Linked DNA regions of Homo sapiens: all the other regions are linked to region 2. The links are contacts of gene promoters, found by promoter capture Hi-C in blood cells and fetal thymus (Javierre and others, 2016). All regions are on one chromosome and are shown on one strand. The core of a region is centred on a gene start or on the middle of the fragment in contact, and the rest is flanking DNA. Distances in the headings are between cores, read along the strand shown.

Region 1 (2,871 bases), core at 271-2,770, 70 kb after region 2:
TCCCAGCACTTTGAGAGGCTGAGTGGGGTGGATCACTTGAGGTCAGGAGTTTGGGACCAATCTGGCCAACATGGTGAAACCCCGTCTCTACTAAAAATACAAAAATTAGCTGGGCATGGTGGTGGGCACCTGTAGTCCCAGCTACTCAGGAGGCTGAGGCAGGAGAATCACTTGAACCTGGGAGTCAGGTTGCAGTGAGCCGAGATTGTGTCATTGCACCCCAGCCTGGGCGACAGAGCAAGACTCCATCTCTCTCTCTCTCTCTCTCTCTCTCTCTCTCTATATATATATATATATATATACATATATATATAATATATAATATAATATATAATATATATACTTGTGTGTGTGTGCTGAAAAATTCCTACCATCTAGTGACATTGTAGCATAACACATTACTCATGTGTTTGTGGCAATGCTGGTGTAAACAAACCTACTGAGCTGCCAGTTGTAAAAGTATAGCACATACAATTATGTACATTACATAGTACTTGATAGTAAAAATAGATGACTATGTTACTGGTTCATTTATTTACTAGACTATACTTTTAATCATTATTTTAGAGTATACTCCTACTTATAAAAAAGTTAACTGTAAAAGAATCTCAGGCAGGTCCTTCAGAAGGTATTCCAGAAGAATGCATTGCTGTCATAGATGACAGCTTCATGCATGTTAGTGCCCTTGAAGACTGTCCAGTGGGGCAAAATGTGGAGGTGGAAGACAGTGATATTAATGATCCTGACTTTGTGTGGGCCTAGGCTAATGTGTATGTTTGTGTCTTAGCTTTTAACAAAAATGTTTTAAAGGTAAAATATAAAAATAAAAAATTTAAAAACAGAATAAAGCTTCTAGATATGGATATTAAAACATTTTTGTACAGCTGTAAAATTTTTTTTGTTTTAAGCTTAGGGTTATTACAAAAGAGTCAAGAAATTAAAAAAGCAAAAGTTTATAAATAAAAAGTTACAGTAAGCTAAATTTATTTCATTATTGAAAAAACAAAATGTTTTGCATATTTAGTATAGCCTAAGTGTACAGTGTTCATAAAATCTATAGGAGTGTACAAAAATGTTCTAGGCCTTCCTATCCATTCACCACTCACTCACTGACACATAGAGTAACTTCTAGTTCTCCAAGCTCTACTCATGGTAAGTGCCTTATACAGGTGTACCATTTTTAATCTTTTATACTTTATTTTTATTGTCTATTTTCTATGGTTAACTATGGTTAGATACCATTGTGTTAGAATCTCTGACAGTATTCAGTACAATAAAAAACGATAAGGTTTGTAGCCTAGCAGCCATAGGCTATACCATGTAGCCTAGGCGTGTAGTAGACTATACCATCAGGTTTATGTAAATACACTCTATGATTTTCACACAACAACAAAATCACCTAAGGATACATTTCTCAGAACAAATCCCCCATAGTTAAGTGATATGACTGCATATATGTGTGTATTACACATATAGACACACATGCAAACACACACACATCAATTCATTTGATCCTCACAACTCAACCACTGTAAAGCAGATTCTATTATTATGATTATATTTACAGATAAGGAAACTGAGTTCCAGAGCAGTTCAGTTACTTGGCCAAGTTCACATAACTAGCAAATAGTAGAGTTGGGATTTAAAACCCAAGAAATTTGGTTATACTTTTGACCAAGATACTAGAAAAAAGCCTTACTATGCCTACACTAAAAACCCTACATTAAATCACTCCACATACAACTATAGGAAAACATGACAAAATACAAGAAATATACCAAAATGTTTAGATGGCAATCATGTTTCCAGGCAAACATGACATCCTATATGCTAAGTGAGTAAACAGGGTCAGCACAAAGATATGTCAGATATGGTAGATGCCAAAAGCTAAATGTAGCATCATTTCCCTTGTTGGTACCCACTCTTCAAGACATGAAAGAGACAGGAAGGTAGGATAGTAACCCCATTATGAGATCAATATTGACTAATTGCACAAGGGTAGTTGTACAGCAGTTATAGCTAATATGGAGGTAAAAAAAAAAGAAATGGGAGGAGTGAAAGGGAACAAAAGAAGGAAAAAAAAGACATAAGTACTCTTTTGATTGTTGTCCATGAACTACTTGGGAAGCTTCTGTAATTACGATAATTAGCAAAGTAGTAGTGTTTTTCACTTCTTAATATTCAAGGAAAGGTACTTTTTAGAATGCTATGGCTCTTAGACCATGTGTAAACCACATAAAGAGAAGTTAGTCTCGTGGTTCTGTTCCACACAGAGATGAATTCAAAGAAACACACTTAGACAATTAAAACATGTGCCAATTATTTGCCTCTTGCTCTCAGGTCTATTCCCCACTTTCCTTGCTCTACTGTGTTTCAGAGAAAATTGTATTGCCAGGCTCCTTGGCCCTCTGGCTTCTAGTATGTTTAGCTGAATTGGAGAATGGATAGCAGGAGATAAGCCATAGTGTTTCTTCCCTGAGCTTTCTGCTTTAAGTGGCATCCATGAAGGGGCTGCATCTGCACTGAGGCTCCAACTTTCACCAGTCAGCCTCTCCCCCTGTGGCATGAGCTAGTCCTAGCCATCACCACTGTAGCTCAAGATTCTGCCAGGTGGCCCTGGCTTCTGAACTCAAGTTACACCACCACCTCCTAGTTTCCCTCTAACCCCTAGGGTGGTAACCACTTCCTGTAGTTGTTCATCTTTATATTATGTTGCCTCTGCACCCCATGTTGGGATTCTCTACTTTTCCATAATCCATGTAACAAATTTCCTGGTATGAAATTCCCCCTGTTGAAATACAGTGGTTTCTGTTTTTTGACTGAAACAAAAAAGTTACTCATATCTGTACTTATTTTTTTCATGTATTCAAA
Region 2 (3,206 bases), core at 87-2,586:
CTTTGTAACTTCACTTCAGCCTCTGATTGGTTGCTGTCTGCAACCAATCAAACTGATTATGGGCCAAATCTTTGTTTGAATAGAAGTGCAACTTTGTAACTTCACTTTAGCCTCTGATGGTTGCTTTCTTGCAACCAATCAGACGTTTGCATAGGAGTGTGGCCTTTGTAACTTCAGCCTCTGATTGTGGGCCACTACTTCATTTACATGGGGTGCACACCAAGTGGCCAATGGGAAATCTCTAGGGGGTATTTGGACCAGAGAAGATTCTGGATCCCGGCCCTTGAGCGGCTTCTCTGCCCGCTCCCACCCTGTAGAGTGTACTTTCGTTTTCAATAAATCTCTGCTTTTGTTGCTTCATTCTTTCCTTGCTTTGTTTGTGCGTTTTGTCCAATTCTTTGTTCAAAGAGCCAAGAACCTGGACACCCTACACTGGTAACAGAACTGTAAGAGAACAGGACTGTGTTTCTTTAAGGCACTACATTTACGGTAATTTGTTACAGTAGCAATAGGAAAGTAATACAGTGGTTAAGAGCTTGGGCTCTGCTATCAGACTACTTGAGCTCAAGTCCCTTTTCTACACCCTACTGGCTGTATGACCTTGGGCAAATTAAATTCTCTATACCTCAGTTTCATCTTGATAAAAGCAGTGATGGAAGAACTAACTCCTCTGACTTATTGTGAGGTTTTGAGGAAGTGTCTAGGATCATCTGGAAATTAGTAATTTATTTTAAAATTACTAATTTAAAATTACTACATTTATTTTAAAATTACTAATTTAAAATTACTACATTTATTTTAAAATGTAGTCATTGTTCTCTTGTTGAGAAGCATCTACTTTAGGAGCCGTGTATACAGCTTCTCATCAGATCCTTACAACCAGTAGTGAAATAGGTATGATGGTAAGTTTCCATATGAGAAAACTGAAGCTGTGGGAGGTGAATTTTTCCAAGTAACATAGCTAGTAAGTGGACAAATCAAAGTGGCTGGTTTACCACGAAATTAACTACATTTATGTGCCACATGATGGTGAATGAACAAATACGTGCAAGTAATCACAGCAGTGGGCACTCAACCACTAGTGCGGAGTCTAGACTAACTGCCACTAGGTCACCCCATCTGATCCACACTGGCGCCATTCCCAGTTCTTTACATTCATCCCTTGTTTCCAGAAAGGGCAGAGGAAGCGAGGAAAAAGTGCGTGGCCTGAAGTGACGCCTGGCGTTGCCCGAAGCCCGCCCAGCGCTGCCAGGTGACGCCACTGCGACACAAAGGCGGGGATTGCGTAGGGAAAGGCCCTAGGCCATAAACGGGGGTGGGGCCTCCCCGGAGGCCAGTGCGCGGCCGCGGTGCTCTACCGGCGTGTCGCTCCGCCCCAGGGAGAGCCGGCGCTACCATGGAGGAGTACCATCGCCACTGCGACGAGGTACCGCCCCTTGGCTACCTGGGAGCGCCCCCCACTCCCGCCTTCCTCTGCGCGGGGCTCTTGCCGGGTGGTCTCCCAGCGAGGGCGGTCCCAAGAGTTGGGGTGCGGCGTCCTCCGAGCCCGGGTCCTCTCCCCTGGGCCCGGGATCCGCCCCGCCCGACCCGTTCTCCCCACCCCAAAGTCCTGAGATTCGGGGTGGGAGGGGTGGCCAGGAGCGCGCGGATCAGACGGTGGGGTCGGGGCAGGGTTGGGAGGACGAGGCCTGACTTGGGTGCGAGGAGTGGGCATGGGGTGACGGGCGCCGCCCTCCTACCGGGCGGGCCTCGAAAACGGGTCTTCCCGCTGCTGCCTCCGTCCCTTGGCTTCCTCAGCGCGGGTGCTGCAGCCCCCATGGCTCGGAGTCTCGGGGTCCTGGTGGCACTGCCATTCCCGCTCCCGGTAATGCTTGCCAGGATTAGGCAAGGAGGTGCTTTATGGATTACGAGCCCTTGCTTACTGACTCAGGCTTTCCCAACCCTCACCAGAAACCCATGATGTCAGTTGTTATCTCCCTGTTATTGATGGGGACTCCAAAGAAAAGACTAAGTTGTCAGACCACTTTATAGTACTAAAGTGATATTAATCTTGAGTTATCAAGTATTTTCATAATCTTTAATTTGGGAAAGGAATTTTTGCCTAGAAATTTTTGCCTAGCATAAGTTAAAAACAAAATTGAAAATAGTCTACTAAGCATTCTCTTCATATGGACCACTTCATTCTCTCACTTAGCTGAAACCATTTCTATATTCTTATGACACATAACATCCTCATAGTCACCTCTTGCTTATTTCCTACGTTTTACAATACAATGATTCTTAATCTAGGATGTTCATTAGAATCACCAGTATAAAGCACTTTTTTAAAAAAAAATGTAGACTTGCAGGCTCTGCCCCAGACCTCACGGGAGGTAGGTAGGGAAAGCATTCAGTATTTTTAAGTGTTTAGGGGCAAGATTGGCCCCTTCTGTAGACCTGATGCCCTTTAACACTTTAACACCTGTCTAGGCCAGCCTAGGATATTCTGTGTAGCGTCATACTTGTAAGCCTGTGTTGAAAGCAGCTTTACCTTTTGTTTTCCCTTTAGGTTGGCTTCAATGCTGAGGAAGCCCACAATATTGTCAAAGAGGTGAGTCATACATTTTGTTTCTCTTGAAGCTTGCTGCACTGGTGGAGATTTTTAAAAGCTATATTTTGAGTTTCAGCACAAACTTAGAAACCTTACTGTTAAAAGAAGAATATTTTGTTTTGTTTTATTTTATTTTATTGTTTTTTGAGATGGAGTCTCGCTCTGTCACCCATGCTGGAGAACAGTGGTGTGATCTCAGCTCACTGCAACCTCCACCTCCTGGGTTCAAGCAATTCTCCTGTCTCAGCCTCCCGAGTAGCTGGGTCTACAGGCGCCCGCCACCACACCCATCCAATTTTTGTATTTTTAGTAGAGACGGGGTTTCACCTTATTGGTCAGGCTGGTTTCGAATTCCTGACCTCCGGTGATCCACCCGCCTTGGCCTCCCAAAGTGCTGGGATTGCAGGCGTGAACCACCACACCCGGCCAAGAACAAGATTTTAAATATTTATCCACTAACTCTTTATAGGGGTCCTTCTATATTTTGTTGTGTGCTATCAGCATCTTGAGGCTTATTCTGAAAGAGATGCTTAAGGATTTTCTTAGTCTAGAAAACTGGTTTAAAATTGATGCCCTGTCTTTTGGATAAAATAACTTTTATTCCAGAAAGCAAACA
Region 3 (2,915 bases), core at 60-2,559, 120 kb after region 2:
AAGAAATGCTGTATTTGACAATCAATTTTAATATATATTTTCCCATTTACAAGGCTGAAAAGATTAAACTCACATCCAAATAATGCCTTGAATCAGCATTCAAGTTGTAAAGCACAATTATCAAAAGATGTTGCTATATCCTTTATCGAAAACTATACTAAAATGATAAATTCATTTGCCACCAGAAAGTACTTTCTCAGATTCAGTGGGTCTTTTTCTTCCAAGTGCCATGTGTTTGGGTGCTATTTTTGTAAGCAACTAGTGGTAAGAGAAAGGGCACCTGTCGAGAAGACCAAAGATTCGCATATCCACTCAGGAACTCATATGAATGACACTACTTATTTCTTTTCAAACAGTAAAAAAATAAAAATAACCTGCTTATGGATTTGAATAACTATAATAACTCTATAAATATGCATAGCACTTAAAAACATTTTCAAAGCATTTTCACATCTATTATTTAATTTGATCTTTCTGATAACCTTGTGAGGTAGGTTGGAAAAGGGTATTATGGGGAAACTGAGGCATAGAGCAATTAAGTTGTAGTGCTGGACAGGGAAGTGCCAATCTCTACACTGGGCTGTCTCCAGCAATGAGAGGAAGTCTAAACATGTTTGATGAACTTACTTCAATATATTTTGAAGACATACTTCACCCCCATCCAGCCAAATGATAGCAATTCAGTTGGAGCAACTATCCTGACAAGTTATGGGATGTAATTAATTAGACAAAGCACCAAGAAATTTAAAAATTGAAATTATAACTGAAAAACACATTTTAACTCCAAACACATGAGAAAAGTTGCTGGTTTGTTTTATGCCAATAGGACAACCTAGCTCTGCAGTGTGAACTGTAATTTTGCCAATTCAGTAATATAAATAATTTAAAAACAAAAATTATCAGTTCACCATGGCTTATGTTTTCACCACACAGAAAGAAAGTACTGACACCCCTTCCTGAAAGTGAATGGACATACATGTGCCCAAAGCTGGGATACCTGTATATTAAGGGTTAAAACTGACAAAATACCCAAATGAGTTACCAAATCTCTGTCCTTATAAATGTGTGAAGTGGGCTTTGGGTGTCGGACAAACCAGCACTGTTAGTTTGGTTTGGGATCACTCAAGTTGCTCACCTATCTTCTAAATTAAAGTGATTTAGAATGTATTTGAAGGTTAAGATTTTGTAATGGTTTTTGAGACAAGCTTCCAAACCAAGGCTGGAAAAAACCAGTCTCTCCATCCTTGTCTAATTCCTAACATGCCTAGTCAGTGGGAGGCTGGTGGCTACTCCCACACCTCACTCCCAAGGCCTGAGCTGAAGGCATTTCAGGTGAAAAGGGAGCGCTATTGCCCCTACCATTTGCCACTGCAGAGCCTCAAGGCAAGAATCTCTTTCTCACAAAAAGCTTGAAAATATTTGGTGTCAATGAACACAAGTAACTGGTGTGATACAAATATACACTTGGAATGACTAAAGAATGGCCTTACAGCTCTCCTAATCATTATAGAGCCCTTTTGTTAATTAGGAAGAAACAAAAAATGATGTATTAACATGGTAGCTTTATTTTATTCAAAGTCATATATTTTCAAGGGTGTTTTATGTAATACGATTGTGTATCTATGCACATATGTGATTACATGAAGAGTGCATGGAAGTATATGTTGTATGAAGTATTATTTTGATTATATATGCTCACTATTTTAGGCCTATTAAGAATAGTGCAAGTGGTAAGTGATGTGTTGGGATGGAGAACATAGTCTTGAGTGTTATTCTTATTTGGTTAAAAATAGACAAAAAATGATCTACTGCCTGGACACCCCCACAAAGTTAAACCACAAATATTGATAAATCAAAAACATTTCAAATGAGAAAAACCAAAATTGAGGCTCTATAATTTAGGAGCTTATTGATGTATTTCTATGAACTCTATAAATATTAAACAGTATGGATGCCTTGTGAAAGAATATATACTGCTTTCTTGACCTCCGAATGTAGTGGAAACTGATTATCAAATTGCATTTTCTCCTGTGTGCATGAAATTACTTAAAAATTTGACACCAAGAGGAATTAAAAATGAAAATTATCCGAAGTGCAATGGCCAGATAAATACGTTTTGTAGGTTAACAGAGAAGTGGATCCCTATTCCATATGGTAAAATCGAGTCCATAGAGTCCCTTTTGTAAATTTCTCAGACTTTAATATTCATTCTAAATTGGTGTGATCTTTATGGTCACCTCTTTTCAAGTATTTCGCTTTCAAGATTTTAATGGTAGAAATAATGGCACTAGATCTACGCATTTTTCCAAGATAATTGAGGATATGCTACCCAATCCTCTTTAATGAAACAAATAGGGTCTCCGATTAAAGGAAAAATTATATAGAACATTAAAGGGTGTCAGAGGATACAACTGGAGATCTTTATCAAATTAACTCACAATTATGCCAAGTCAAATTGCATTCCATGAAAGACAAAAATTTTCTGGTCATTCCGTCTTTATAATTTAGAAAAAGTTTCTGAAGTCAATCTCTAATTACAAGTGGTAGTGAGGAAAACTCTATTCCTTGAAATAATGAAAATGAAAATTCCCTATACACCTGAACTGGGTGAGAGATTTCTGTGGGGTTTTCTAAAAAACCCTTAAGTTAACCAAGGTAACTCTTCTAAAATGGTCCTGACAGGCAAGGAATGGGGAGGCAGGAGTAAGATGGTAAGAATTCTACTTATACAAGTCGCCATCATTTTGATGTTTTAACACCCCTCCTGATCCAGAATTTCATCAACATATCAAAGAATCACAACTTTCCTAAAATTCCAGGGCTTTCATGGCCAAATTTATCACTCATTTCTGCATCCATGGATGCTAAGGAACAAAGTCTCCAAATCTAGGCCCTTGAATCAATTAGAGACAGCA

Evidence for each region. Contacts are between HindIII fragments. The CHiCAGO score rates a contact against its expected background, and 5 or more counts as called.
Region 1: a contact is called between a fragment that was not itself captured here and the fragment with the promoter of DYNLT3 in region 2, in 1 of 17 cell types (activated CD4 T cells). The highest score is 5.0, in activated CD4 T cells.
Region 3: a fragment that was not itself captured here is called in contact with the fragment with the promoter of DYNLT3 in region 2 in 1 of 17 cell types (total B cells); the score reaches 5.2 in total B cells.

What each region holds. Positions count from the first base shown.
Region 1 is chrX:37,776,501-37,779,371 of GRCh38, reverse strand. No RefSeq gene overlaps it. Among named protein-coding and RNA genes, the nearest start is that of CYBB, 2.1 kb to the left of the region's middle. The HindIII fragment of the contact is 1,220 bases long and covers 911-2,130 here.
Region 2 is chrX:37,845,701-37,848,906 of GRCh38, reverse strand. It overlaps DYNLT3 (dynein light chain Tctex-type 3), which reads left to right and starts at 1,336. Exons shown (of 5, transcript NM_006520.3): 1 at 1,336-1,426; 2 at 2,549-2,590. The coding sequence starts at 1,397. RefSeq lists a silencer at 1,563-1,672. The HindIII fragment of the contact is 5,769 bases long and covers 1-2,621 here.
Region 3 is chrX:37,729,043-37,731,957 of GRCh38, reverse strand. It overlaps XK (X-linked Kx blood group antigen, Kell and VPS13A binding protein), which reads right to left. Exons shown (of 3, transcript NM_021083.4): 3 at 1-2,915. Among named protein-coding and RNA genes, the nearest start is that of XK, 45 kb to the right of the region's middle. The HindIII fragment of the contact is 203 bases long and covers 1,208-1,410 here.